4 separate regions of the Homo sapiens genome follow, and all the other regions are linked to region 1. The links are contacts of gene promoters, found by promoter capture Hi-C in blood cells and fetal thymus (Javierre and others, 2016). All regions are on one chromosome and are shown on one strand. Each heading gives the region's core, a stretch centred on a gene start or on the middle of the fragment in contact. The rest is flanking DNA. Distances are from core to core; before and after follow the strand shown. Region 1 holds the start of POU4F2 (POU class 4 homeobox 2). Region 2 overlaps REELD1 (reeler domain containing 1). Region 3 overlaps SLC10A7 (solute carrier family 10 member 7). Region 4 overlaps TTC29 (tetratricopeptide repeat domain 29).

Region 1 (3,088 bases), core at 173-2,672:
CCATGTGCGACGGCAGCCCGTGCGCGTGGGCCATGCTGAGCGCTGCTTGGTGCATGGGGTTCATGGTGGCCATGTGCGGCGCGTGAGCCGGCGTGGACACCACAGCGCCGTCGGGGCCCGCCATAGCGCCCAGGGCCAGCCCGGGACTCAGGTGCTCCAGCAGCTCGCCCTCCAGCGCCTGGTGCGGTTGGTGGTGGTGGTGGTGGTGATGGTGGTGGTGGTGGTGCGTGCCCGCCAACGCGGAAGGGTGCGAGATGGGCACCGATGAAGAAGAGGCGGCCGACGTGCACGGGATGGTATTCATAGTGTGGTAGGTGGCGTCCGGTTTGAAGGGGCTGTGGTGGGGTGGATGGTGGTGGTGGCTCTTGCTCTGGGAGACGATGTCCACGGCTGCCAGAGCCTCGGCGCGGGCCAGCAGACTCTCATCCAGCCCGCCGAATATATTGCTCTGCAATTGTAAGTAGAAGGCACACATTACGCTCAGCAGGGAATTGTACGCCCTCTCTCCGGAAGCCCCGGCCCAGGGCTCGACACCGTCGCCGCGCCTACAACATTCCCAGATCGTTAAAATAATAATAATAATAATCCTGAAAACAGAGGTGAAGAGAAAAAGAGGGAAGCCACAGAAAGAAGCCGAGAGTGCAGGAGGAGGAGGAAAGTGAGCCTGTAGACACAACGAAACACAACACAACACGCGCACAGGCAACATCCCAGGTCATAAAAATTAATATGAAAGGCAAGACCTGCTGAATACTTAAGAGAGAGAGAGGGGAAAATTGGTTGGAGGTGTGGGGTGATTTGCTGTGCAGACATGAAAAAAACATCAAGCAGATAAAGGGGGCTGTCAAAATGTGCCTTTAAGCGGTGATTATGCAGAAATACGCACCGGTGGGGTTGGAAGACAGGCTCTCCGCATAGCCTCCGAGCCCCCGCCGCCGCTGCTGCCACTGCTGCTGGAGCTGCTGCTTCGGCCTCCGCCGCCGCCGCCGCCGCCGCCGCCGCCGCCGCCACCACCAGCGTTGCTCGAGCTGCTGGGGGAGCTGGCCGAGGGCGCGATGGGAGCCGAGGAGCCCGGCGAGGTGCTGTGCAGTGCCGAGTACTTGGGCTCCACGTGCAGGCTGCCGCCGTGCGGCATGCTAAACGCCTGCTTGCTGTTCAGGGACATCATCATCATCTTCCCGCCCGCCGGGGCGCTGGTCCGTAGAGGCACTCACTGGTCCCGGCTGCCGGGACCCTCCGAGAAGTGCCGGGCCAGCCGGGGCTGGAGCTGGGAAGGGCTGTGCGAAGTTGAGCTCACCCGCCGCCGCCTCCGGACTCTGTACGCCTGATCTCGGCTACGCGCTCCTTCGCCGCCTCTGCTGTCAGTCTGAACGGATGCCTGACTCCGCTTGCCGCTAGCTGCAGACCTCGGCACCCGAAACTGCCCCCGCTCCTCGCGGCCGGCGAGTTATACTCCCCTCTCCCCGCGCCTACCCCCGCGCCCCCCGCCCTCCCTCTCTCCCTCTCTCCCGCGCGCCTCCGCCCTCCCTTGCCAGGAAACGCCGGCTCCTGTTCGGTTTCTCGCGTTGCCCCTTCTTCCTCTCTACTCCCCTCAGGCTTGAGTCCTTTCTGCTCTCTCAGCACTCGCCTCGCGCTCCCCCACCGCGCCCTCCGCCGCCTCTTTTCTGCCCCCGCCCGTGCTCTGTTGCCGCCGCCCCTTCGCAGCGTCCCGCGGCTGCTACTCACAATCGCGCCCCCACTCAACCCCACCCAAATGGCCAGGTCCGCGCTCCAGTCGCCGGGCAGTGCCTACCTAAGGACCAGCCTCCAGCCCCTCCCGCTTCTTCTGCCGGGTCTCTGTCTCACCGGAAAAAGAAACTCCCAAATAAAGTTGCGGCCCAAGCCAGCGTTGGGTAGGTAAGAGTGCCTCTTACCTGGCTGCCACCTCCTACGCCTCCTGCTTACCACTAAGTTCCAGGCTTCCAACCCCACTCGGCCCGCCCCCACCCCGTCAGCTCAGGTGACCCTGATCCCAGGTTCCCGGCCACCGCTGAGAACACAGACGTTGCGGCCAACCCGGGTTCTGCGCGCGGCTCTGAACTCCCAGCCCAATACGAGCGGAGGTCGGCGTTCGGCTACGAGCCCCCCACGGCCCGGCGGGTGCCTGGTGCCAAAGAGACATGGGGTCGGAGGGGCTGCAGGGCTTTCTCTCACTCGATTTCTCGCAGCTCTCAGCGGATTGGACAGCCGCGGAGCAGGCTCGGGTCGTCTGTGCGCATGCGACTCCTCCCCCTCCCCGCTGTCCCCACCCCTCCCACAACACACACACACATACACACAGGCACACACACACGCTCCTCTTGCCCCCCTTTTCTCTTCCTCCTCCTCCCTGTATCCAGTACAGTTCGAGTTGAGTCTTGGAAGGATCCACTGGCAAACCCTGCCCCTGGATTTATTATTCTTCATTAGCCACAATCAAAGGAAGAAGGGGCAACTGACAGGGAGAGGGAAGGTCAGAAATTACACAGCGCATATGCTGCTGAATACACCCCACAACACAGACACACACACACACACCCTCGGGGGCTGGCACAAACCTCACTTATCTTCATTTCCACAGCCTCTCGGTGCGGAGCCTATTTTTAGCTGACACTTCACTCCCACTTCTGTCCCAGTCCCAGTGCAGACCACTTTTCCTAGAGATGGACACACACTCTTGGTTCCAGTTGCAAAAGGAGATAATCTCTTTCTATCTATCTCTCTCTCTCTGTCACACACACACACACACACACACACACACACACACACTACTTCCTCTCCTTCTGGATCCCATTTTCTCTATACTTCCCGCGGTGTTGGGGGCTGCTGTCACCTCCCTAGAGAGCGGAAGGAGCAGGGTGCAGGCGAGGGTGAGAAGGCCCCGGGACCCCGACGCAGGAACCCGCGGGTGGCCCAATCCGGACGGGGGTTGACCGGGAGCAGGTGCAGGCACTGGGCGCCTGGGGAAGGCGAGCAGGTGCGAGAGCAGGCGGCAGGCCTGAGAGGCGCTGGCGCGCGCTGGGACAAAAACAGAGTGGGAAGGAGAGTGGAAAAGGGGAACCCTCGGGTG
Region 2 (3,088 bases), core at 269-2,768, 410 kb after region 1:
AAAGCCTCATTCTCCTTGGAAAGCTACTGAACTTATTCCTCATTAAATTTTTGTGAGAGTTAAATGTGAAGATATACGCAAACTACTTAGCACAGTTCCCGTATGAATTAGGTGTTCAATAAACAAATATCCTTTCCGAATTTGTAGTGATTTTTGTTTCTGCATTAAAATGATGACTCTATAATAGGTTTCACTCTGAAAAGGCAGCTAATTCCTATGTGCTATATTAGGTGAGCATATTTAAGAGTTATATTCAGATCTGTTGTTTTGACCTCAGATAGTATCTGTGGAGCCACTGTTAAATCAAAGCAATCTTCATAAGGTTATGAGATCAGGTAGATGACCTTCATCCATGAAGCTTTCTTCCTGATATTCCCTGAAAAGACAAGTAAAGACTGTTCTTCAAACTATGCTGGTATAATAATGTTTTTCAGCCTGACCTTTGGCAAAAGGCACTATGTCTGCTAGCTGTTGGGATACACGAATGTTTCCATCAAGTGTAAATGGATGGGAGGTCTCAGATCCATTTACACCTGATGAAAAGGCTTTCTTACCCCACTCTGGTGTTTACGGCCTTGTGTTGCATGTATATGTTTTCCTGAAGATGTGTTCAATCAAGCTCTCAAAAACTTTCCTGACTTTGGATCAATTTCCATGGCGGATTTGCCAGGCTGCTGAGTTGCCCAGAAGACCAAATACCCTTGCATTCACCTAGTCATCCAAATCAGAACTCTAGCAAGTTGTTGAATTCAGTTTTGAAAAGAAAACTTCTTTGGGGGTGGTTTAGGAAGGCAAAGTGAGAGCTGCAGTTCTTTTTCTTGCAGGAGACACAACCCAACATTACTTTTTTTCCCCAAAGAGTTAGAAGAGATGAGACACTAAGGAGGGACAGTATTTTTATTTCTATGGCTTCCTTACCACAACAGAGGAAGCTTAGTGGCCACAGGGGTCTAGTTAATGAGCGGGTTATACAATATTCATTGTGTTGAGTTTAAGTCTTCAAACAGAACGTCTAATTGCAAAAAGAAAGAAGGAAGCCCAATTACAGATGTTAAGACAACAAAGCTCAGGAATAACTCCCTCTGTTGATGAAAGTGTCCTCTCCCGGGTTCCTCCACTAACTGCACATTGACAGAGGCACAATGAGTCCCTGTCTTCATCAGTTATTCTCATTATCTCTGCTCTGTCTGGGACACTCTCCAGGGCCCAAGGAGGGCCACTGAGAGGTCTGGGGTGACAGTCTTCTCAGAGGACTGTTTTCTTGCTACCCACAGAAGGAGTGATCCAGTTGTACTCTGCTTGAACCAAAACAAAACTGTTCTCCCCAATCTTCCTGACGTGCACAGTCTCACCACTGTTGCTCCTGGCAACAGCATCCGAAGCGGGCTCACTGAAAGACACTTCTGTCTGCTGGTGGCAATACTGGGTGTGCAGGTAGCGAAGGCCAGCGGCCAGGGCCATGCCCAGGGTGGCTGACAGGCAAAGCAGAATTCCCAGCTGAGGAGTTCTGAGCTGGATACCCAGAGGGGCCTGGGCTCCCTCTAGCCCAATGTCAGGCCGTGGGTTGGTCTGCCGAGGGTATCCCACTCCACCCTCTCCATTTCCCTTCCCTGCTCTGAGCTCCTTGTGCTTTGACTGAGGTAAGAAGCTGGCAGAGGCCCTGGATGCCTCTGACTGGTCACCAGCAGCAGGTAGCCCAGAAGTGCCAGAGGTCTGGAGGACAGGGATTGGGTTGCTTGCCCTGACCCCATTCCCTGTGAAAGTTTCAGAGGACCAGAGGCACTGGGGATAGGTAAGCTGGACGGTGGACAGAGGAGGCTGTGTCACGGTCCTGTTAGAGGCCTTCGTCTTGTCCTAGAAAAACAAAGGGAAAAAAGAGTCAAAGGTACTGGTCTTCCTCCTAAGCTGCCACTGAACTTTGTAACTAACTGGGGTTCCTTAAAGACTCCCAGGAGGCAGCTAAAAACCCAGTCTCTTTCTTGCTACTAAAGGAGCTCAAAGTAAAATGCCCAACTAGATACAAATGCACTTGTTATTGATGGGGATGGGGTAGCTAATGGAAACCCCACAGAGAACAAGGAAGCCAGTTACAAGAATAAGCTTAGGGTCCTTTAAGTGGCTTCCAAACCAAAATATCAATGGGTGATTGCATCATCTTCTATGGCTGAGAGATTTGAGTGTGTCTTCTTATGATAGGACCCATGCAAGAGGGACCATTTAACCTCACTGTAGGTTCTGAGAAATGTAAGTAAGAACATTACACCTTGTTTTATTTTGTGTTCCTTCTAAGACTTCAAAGGAATAGTAAATCAGTGGGCATTTATATTTTATATTGACCATTGATCTAACTTCTGGGACCATACATGGCATTTTGAGGTCAATGTTATGAAGGAGGGATAGAGGAGGAGAGAAGAGAGTAATTATTAACTGTGGCTAAGTGAGAAGACAAGTCACTAAAACATCAATTTCTACAATTGCCGATCACTTCAGAGACACTGCATATAATGGAAAGGTATTGATTAGTAGAAAGACACTGTGTGTATATTGTACTTTGCCTTCTTCTCTCTAACTTTGGCTACTAGTCTAATAGCTCTGATTTCCCAGCCTGAAACTGACCATTCTAGGATCAAAATACCAGTCACAAGCCCACTTCACAGTTCAGGTTCTTACCTGTTCACCCCCATCTGAGGACAGGCAAGTTTCCAGTGAATCAAAGCTGGGATCATCCTGAGTTCTAAAGGGAAGAATGGAAGGGCTGAAAACAGGTCATTAAGTTTTGGACCAAAAAGCAATGTTTCCTACCACAGTTGTGTATGCAGATGGCAACAGATTCACTTGAAAAACTTCTGATTTTGGAGTCAGGAACCATAGAGAAGAGGAAGGGGAGAGATGAGTGAGAATGGTGGCAAAGAACTCACCAAATGCTGTCGCTTATTATTTTATATAAAATATACATTTCTATGTTGTTATTATAAATATATTTAAAATATAAAAAGTCACTTTTAAAGTTTTACTTATAACAGCACCTCAGAGATCTCACCCCATCCAAGAAAATAATTTCCCTGGGTAATTAACATACCCAGTCCTT
Region 3 (3,088 bases), core at 195-2,694, 310 kb after region 1:
CTTGAGTGACTGTTATGACACAGGGACTTTCATGTAAATACCAAAAGGACTTTTTTTCTTCCAAAAGTAATGAAGTAGTCCCAGATCTGGATCTTGGACACTGTCTGGATATATAGTACCTCTGTCTATCTGTCTCTCTCTCTCTCTCTCTCTCTTTTTCTGTGTGTGTGTGTGTGTGTGTGTGTGTGTGTGTGTGTGTGTGTGTGTGTGTCTGTCCCTCTCTTTTCTGTCTTAGGCACGCACAACCTCAGATTCTCTGAAATTTTAAAATTCCAAGTAGAATTCATTAATAAAAATCTGAAATGTTTTTTCTGGTATAAATCATAATGAAATGTTGAGAGACAAAGGAAAAACTAAAACGGGCAAATAATCATCTGCTGCTCCAAAACTGAAGCCTGTCATTACAACTCCCAACTCAAACACTTAGTTTTAAAGATTTGCCTTCAAGAAACCTAAAAGCTGGTATTCTGCCTCATTGGCAACAGCCTCAAACTGTTCCCTGTCATCGAAGAAAACAAATCTTTTGCTCATTTCTGCCTAGGGGAGGCAGAGGGACCGAGGTGGTCCTATGTGGCTGAATTAGATGAAAGACTTGCCTTCCACCATGGAGACATGAAGTCTAATCAAGTGAAATGAGTTTTGAGATCCCAGCTCATTTCCTAGGGGAGACCAGTTCACATTACAAAATCATGACATCTCATTCATCACAACTGACGTGGTCTTTGCTCAGGAGAGGACCCCAACTGGGACTAAACCACCTGTCTTCTCTCAAAAAGGGGCATTTTATCCAAGTTAGAGTTGAAAGCCTTGGAGTGAGGAAGCTTGCCAGCCACCAGCTTCTATCTGTATGATCCACGTGCAATGTGGAAGGGAATTTAGGTTTACAAAAGGAAAGATGAACCTAAGGCAGATTGGTGGTTGTGCTTTCAGGCTGCCAAATACAAATAATTGTAATAGAGATGTTATTATGGAAGAGAAAGCTAAGATTGGGACTCTCCCCTCTTTATCTCCTAGATTTTATTAAACAGCAGTGAGAAGATAAGCACTCCTATGCCTCAGAGTTTAAAATGGCAAAGAAAGTGTCCTGCTTTCCAGGCTGATAAATGATCATCCTCTCTTTTATTTCTTTCAGGGCATCGTTATAACACCCCTGCTCCTGCTGCTTTTTGTGAGTATTTTGATGTTGTCTTTAATATATTTTATTAAAAGCTATCTACAACCCTTTAAGAAAGGTCATTAGAACAAAAATGAAATTTGAATTATTTTGCACCATATTTGGAATTGTTGTTCCAGTTTAGCTGTACCGCATAATAATATTCAGATACGAAGAAGCTTCATAATTTCATGATCCAAGAACAGGATCAGGACCCAGTCATTAGGCCTCCAGCTCCTGGCTAAATCATTATATTACAAATAAATGACCCCATGACACAGGTTACAAAAACTGCGCTGCTCTTTATTTTCTCATTAGTAAAACTAAAGTGATTGATAGTGACCCAGTGTTTGATAGTGTTTAACAGAAAGAGCCCTAGGACCAGGGATCAGAGGAAGCTTGGGTTCCAAGGCTGATACTGATGATAACTAGCTTCCTCACCTTGGGGAAGGCTGCCTCAATTTTTTTCATCTGTAGAATGGGAAGTAACACCTCCTCCATTCTATCGCCCAGAGATAATGAAAGGTGCTTTAAAAATTAAAAATACAAATCAATACACGCTTCTAGTTAACTAAACAAAAACTGTTCTGAAAACAAGAAATGCTAATTAGCTGTCTTATTTCTTTTGGCACTAAGCATATGAGAAATTAGATGAAAGATTATAATAGAAATTAATGTTATCTCATGCTGAGCAAGGCATATGTAATCATGAATGATACCTAAAATATTTTATGAACTGTGCATCTTTTCATACACACATCTTCCAAATATAAATCACTCTGCTTATCACTGAAATGTAGTGGGGATGTGTTTCTGGGAATGTAATGTAGCTGTTTGACTAACACTATTTATCAGTGAATTAAAACTATGGGGAAAATTTATTTAATTGTAGTATAATTACCCAAGTTGGAATTCAATTAGAGTAATAGAATGAGGGACTTCATTTCTTACCCGCTGAGTAGGAAATAGGGAGGGATAGATATACTACTAAACAGTTGGATTCCACATCTTTCATGAAAGACATTACCTTCAAGTAATAAACCTCATCCTTACCCTCCCTTTTGAAATGCTGGCTCCATTTTGACAAGGTAAGAAGAGTCAAATAATCAGATCACTTTCCTCAGCATAACAAACTTCATTGACATGGACTTCACCAACGCAGAATTTTCAGTTAGTTAAATTGAAACCAAAGAGACTATTTGCATTAATTTGGAAGAAAAGACTTATTATGTAACTACCTGCTACTAGATGTGAGAAACTGGAATCATCCATTAGTTTATTTCCAAGACCTGGGATCACAGGACAGTTTCCCAGATGCAACCCTTGGTGGGCACAGGATGCAGGCCTGTCTGAGGTCCCCACTTGCAGTAGGTCAAGGGACTAGTATAGAGCTCAGCATCTGGTAAGTGCACAATGAATGGCTGCATCACCTGGGTTTTCTTCATTATGGAAGAGAGACATCTCTTACTCATGTAACTCATTTAAGAAGAGCGGGGGAGATGTTACAGCCACAATTAGGTGGCTGAGGCCTAGGTTGTAACATCTTGGAGTATCTCAGAGGCTGGAATCTCTGAGACCCTTTTTTGACTTGTGATTAAAGAACCAAAGAGTTGGCAATGCAGGCTCTTTTTTGGTTCCATATGAAATTTAAAGTAGTTTTTTCCAATTCTGTGAAGAAAGTCATTGGTAGCTTGATGGGGATGGCATTGAATCTACAAATTACCTTGGGCAATATGGCCATTTTCACGATATTGATTCTTCCTATCCATGAGCATGGAATGTTCTTCCATTTGTTTGTATCTTCTTTTATTTCGTTGAGCAGTGGTTTGTAGTTCTCCTTGAAGAGGTCCTTCATATCCCTTGTAAGTTGGATTCCTAGGTATTTTATTCTCTTTGAAGCAATTGTGAATGGGAGTTCACTCGTGATTTGGCTCT
Region 4 (3,088 bases), core at 323-2,822, 270 kb before region 1:
CTTGCTATGGCCAGATGACATTGTGACAGACTTATCAGCCCTCTCCTCCCAGTAAATTCTGGGCCACACATGATGCCCACTGGAATATTAAGTCCCTTCTCCTATACCATTCATGGGCTGTGGGCAATTACAGGGTTGGTTCTGGTCCTCTTCTGCCTAGAAGTGCTATGCAGGGACTTTTGCTGCCTTTGCATGCCCTTGCGTATAGGGAGGTGGGGAGAGGGATGTTGGTAATCCTCCCTGCCTTCAATAACCCTAGATGGGAAGCAGGATATGAGTGTTTTCTACTCTTGGCTCTCACTGCATTTCACAGGATGTTGACTTTTCTACTCTCTGAGCCCCTCCATTTGACTGGAGTGAGAAAGAGAAAGAGAACATGGCCCTCCAAGCATCTCACTGCCTTTCTCCATACTTTTCTCCTCTATCGATCGCAATTGGAGGACAGGAATAAGTAACAAGCACTATTCCTTTTCTCTTCCCCATTTCAAATATATCTTATTCTCATACTAAATGTTGGCATTTGATCTTTTGACCTAGGATCCATGTGGTCTCTTTATTCTCTTTACGAACTAGTTCTGTAACAACCTGACTGCCATATAGGGGAAGGTTGCGGTTCAGCTGGGACACTTCTTCCAGATGACTTTTGTAAAATGCAGTCTCGTCATGTCAGTTCCCTGACTCTGATCTCCAATAGCTCTACCTCCCTCCCAGCTTGGAGTCCAAACTTCTCACTGTTGTTTTTACCGTAAGATCTCTTCATGATCTGGTCCCTGCCTTTTTTTCTAAACTTCCTGTCTCACCACTCTCCTGCTTGCCACTCCTCATTTGTTTGTTCTCTACCTAAGTTGATCCAATGGATAAGAAATCCTTGGTAGATGCAAGTCTAGTCACTTTGTTTTGTTTTGTTATTTGTTTGTTTTTTTGAACTCTGTAGGTGAATCTAATGCATAATGAGGAATTGAGAAGCAGCAGTGAGATTTCACATTTCCCAGAGTATTCTCACATACCTAATTTCATTTGGTTCCTAGAGGAATCCCATGATGTAGGTAGCATATACTAATATACACAGCTTAGAGATGAGAAGACTGGAGACCCAGGGAGGTGAGGCAAAACTGGACTCAATCTTGGTGGTCTGGGCTGTTTCCACTCCACGGTGAATTTTTGTTGCCAGTAGTATCACATCATGTCGTTTGTCCTATTTTTTTTTAAAGAATATAATATAATTAGTATAAAGCTATATCTTTTGGTATCTAATTGTTCTTTTAATGGAATAATAGCCACTACACAGCTATTATCTCACAATTCTGTTTATTTCCTTTCTAGAAATTTTCGTGATTTGAAATTATTTCTCATTTGCTTACTTATTTGTTAGTCATGTTCTGCCCCTAGAATGTAAGCGTCACAAGGGTATGGAATCTATTTGGTCTAGAACAGCGCCTGGCACTTAGTAGGAAACTCAGCACCTATTTGTCGCTTGACTAAATGGAATATTCATTTGTCACTTTATCTTTTTGCATTTGATTATTGAAGTGAGAATATAATTATTAATCATTAACTTAATTCTAACTGAAAGTAATTAAAAAATATATAGTTAGTAATAGATTTCAATAAATATTTTCTGCATGAATGAAAGAATGATGAACTTCTGTAACATACAGTGAAACTACTAATATAGAGAGAATATTGTTTTGATATTAAATGGCAAGTTTTATTTTTGCTTGACTTGTTGAGGTTTTTTTTGGTGGGAGGCTGATATATCAAGTATTTTTTAATATTCATCAGTCAACTAGCTTATTTGTCCTTATCAAATGGAGCTCAGCTCTGGAACTGATATGTTTATAATGTAATTTCATTAAAATTACTGTGTTTAGATAGCTCCTGGCATCTTTCATTAAACAGAAGTTGTTCAATTATAAGTGTTTGAGGCAAAGATCTTTTGATAGTTTTCAGTGCTTTCACTGAGGGATAAAAGGCAACATGATTCAACCTTTAATTATTAGAGAATGAAAATACCGTGCAGACTGAAAGGATTAACATAAACCTGAGAGTGTTCTGATTCATATTTCCAGTTATAGGAACTCCTACAAGAAGAATATCTGTGTGGACATGCTGCGAGATGGTTATCATAAGTCCTTCACCGAGCTCTTCGCTCTGATGGAGCGGTGGGATGCCCTGAGGGAGGCTGCGAGAGTCAGGTCCCTCTTCTGGCTGCAGAAGCCCCTGGAGGAGCAGCCTGATAAACTGGATTACCTGTACCATTACCTGACCAGGGCTGAGGACGCTGAGAGGAAAGGTAAGTGGTGGGACTGTGGGCAGAGCACAGAAGGAGCCAGAACACCGAGCTCCTGGGGGAAGATTCCAGATTGTTTCATGTATGAATTTGAAACATTAAGACAACTTAGCACACTTCAACCCAGTCAATTAAACGTCTTTATGGAATTAAGGAAAGGGAATGTTGGATCACGAGGCTGCCCAGACACGGGGGCATTCTGGTGATGTCCTTCCGAGCCAGGGAAGACAACACATAGCACCTAATAATATCTCCAGAACTTCCCCCATGAATTAACATAGTTCCTATCATTAGGTTTAAACCTTTCTACAGTTTTTCTGTATACGTAATCTGAATATTGACTTTCATAGAGGAGATACTTTCAAAGAGTACTATAACTTGAAAATCACACTGATTTTCCTAAGTTTAGATAGTGGACTTTGAAGTTTGGGTCAAGAAGTCCTACTGATTTGAATCAGAGAATTTATCTTTGTAAATAGTAAAAAGACATGAAAATCCTGCAATTCACAATTGCAAATAAAATTGTCAATTTTATATTTTCCATGACATCATTTCTAATACATTTTTTGTATTTCAAAATTTTCCAGAAAGTTAGTATACATTCCAAGTATTAAATATTTTCATTTCTACACTAATTATACTGATATTGTTGTCATAAATATTTCTTAGTTACATATTAGGAACTGGTCATTTTAACTAGTCATCTATAATCAAATAAAAAAATGAAATTCTAGAATTTGGCATGTAAATTTGGTATTCTAAATTATTCTTTTCTCCAAATTTTTTGGGGAAAATACC

What was found. Contacts are between HindIII fragments. The CHiCAGO score rates a contact against its expected background, and 5 or more counts as called.
Region 2: a contact is called between a fragment that was not itself captured here and the fragment with the promoter of POU4F2 in region 1, in 1 of 17 cell types (erythroblasts). The highest score is 6.0, in erythroblasts.
Region 3: a fragment that was not itself captured here is called in contact with the fragment with the promoter of POU4F2 in region 1 in 4 of 17 cell types (naive CD8 T cells, total CD4 T cells, activated CD4 T cells and 1 more); the score reaches 5.9 in naive CD8 T cells.
Region 4: a contact is called between a fragment that was not itself captured here and the fragment with the promoter of POU4F2 in region 1, in 1 of 17 cell types (megakaryocytes). The highest score is 5.6, in megakaryocytes.

The regions. Positions count from the first base shown.
Region 1 is chr4:146,637,227-146,640,314 of GRCh38, reverse strand. POU4F2 (POU class 4 homeobox 2) reads right to left here and starts at 1,422. Exons shown (of 2, transcript NM_004575.3): 1 at 887-1,422; 2 at 1-448. The coding sequence starts at 1,174. RefSeq lists enhancers at 742-1,323, 1,324-1,904, 1,905-2,486, 2,487-3,068. The HindIII fragment of the contact is 9,518 bases long and covers 1-3,088 here.
Region 2 is chr4:146,228,671-146,231,758 of GRCh38, reverse strand. REELD1 (reeler domain containing 1) reads right to left here. Exons shown (of 8, transcript NM_001354631.1): 7 at 2,671-2,734; 8 at 1-1,854. The coding sequence ends at 1,246. Among named protein-coding and RNA genes, the nearest start is that of REELD1, 16 kb to the right of the region's middle. The HindIII fragment of the contact is 1,168 bases long and covers 935-2,102 here.
Region 3 is chr4:146,324,041-146,327,128 of GRCh38, reverse strand. SLC10A7 (solute carrier family 10 member 7) reads left to right here. Exons shown (of 12, transcript NM_001029998.6): 6 at 1,133-1,168. Among named protein-coding and RNA genes, the nearest start is that of MIR7849, 83 kb to the left of the region's middle. The HindIII fragment of the contact is 219 bases long and covers 1,335-1,553 here.
Region 4 is chr4:146,908,231-146,911,318 of GRCh38, reverse strand. TTC29 (tetratricopeptide repeat domain 29) reads left to right here. Exons shown (of 13, transcript NM_031956.4): 5 at 2,070-2,293. Among named protein-coding and RNA genes, the nearest start is that of TTC29-AS1, 24 kb to the left of the region's middle. The HindIII fragment of the contact is 4,949 bases long and covers 1-3,088 here.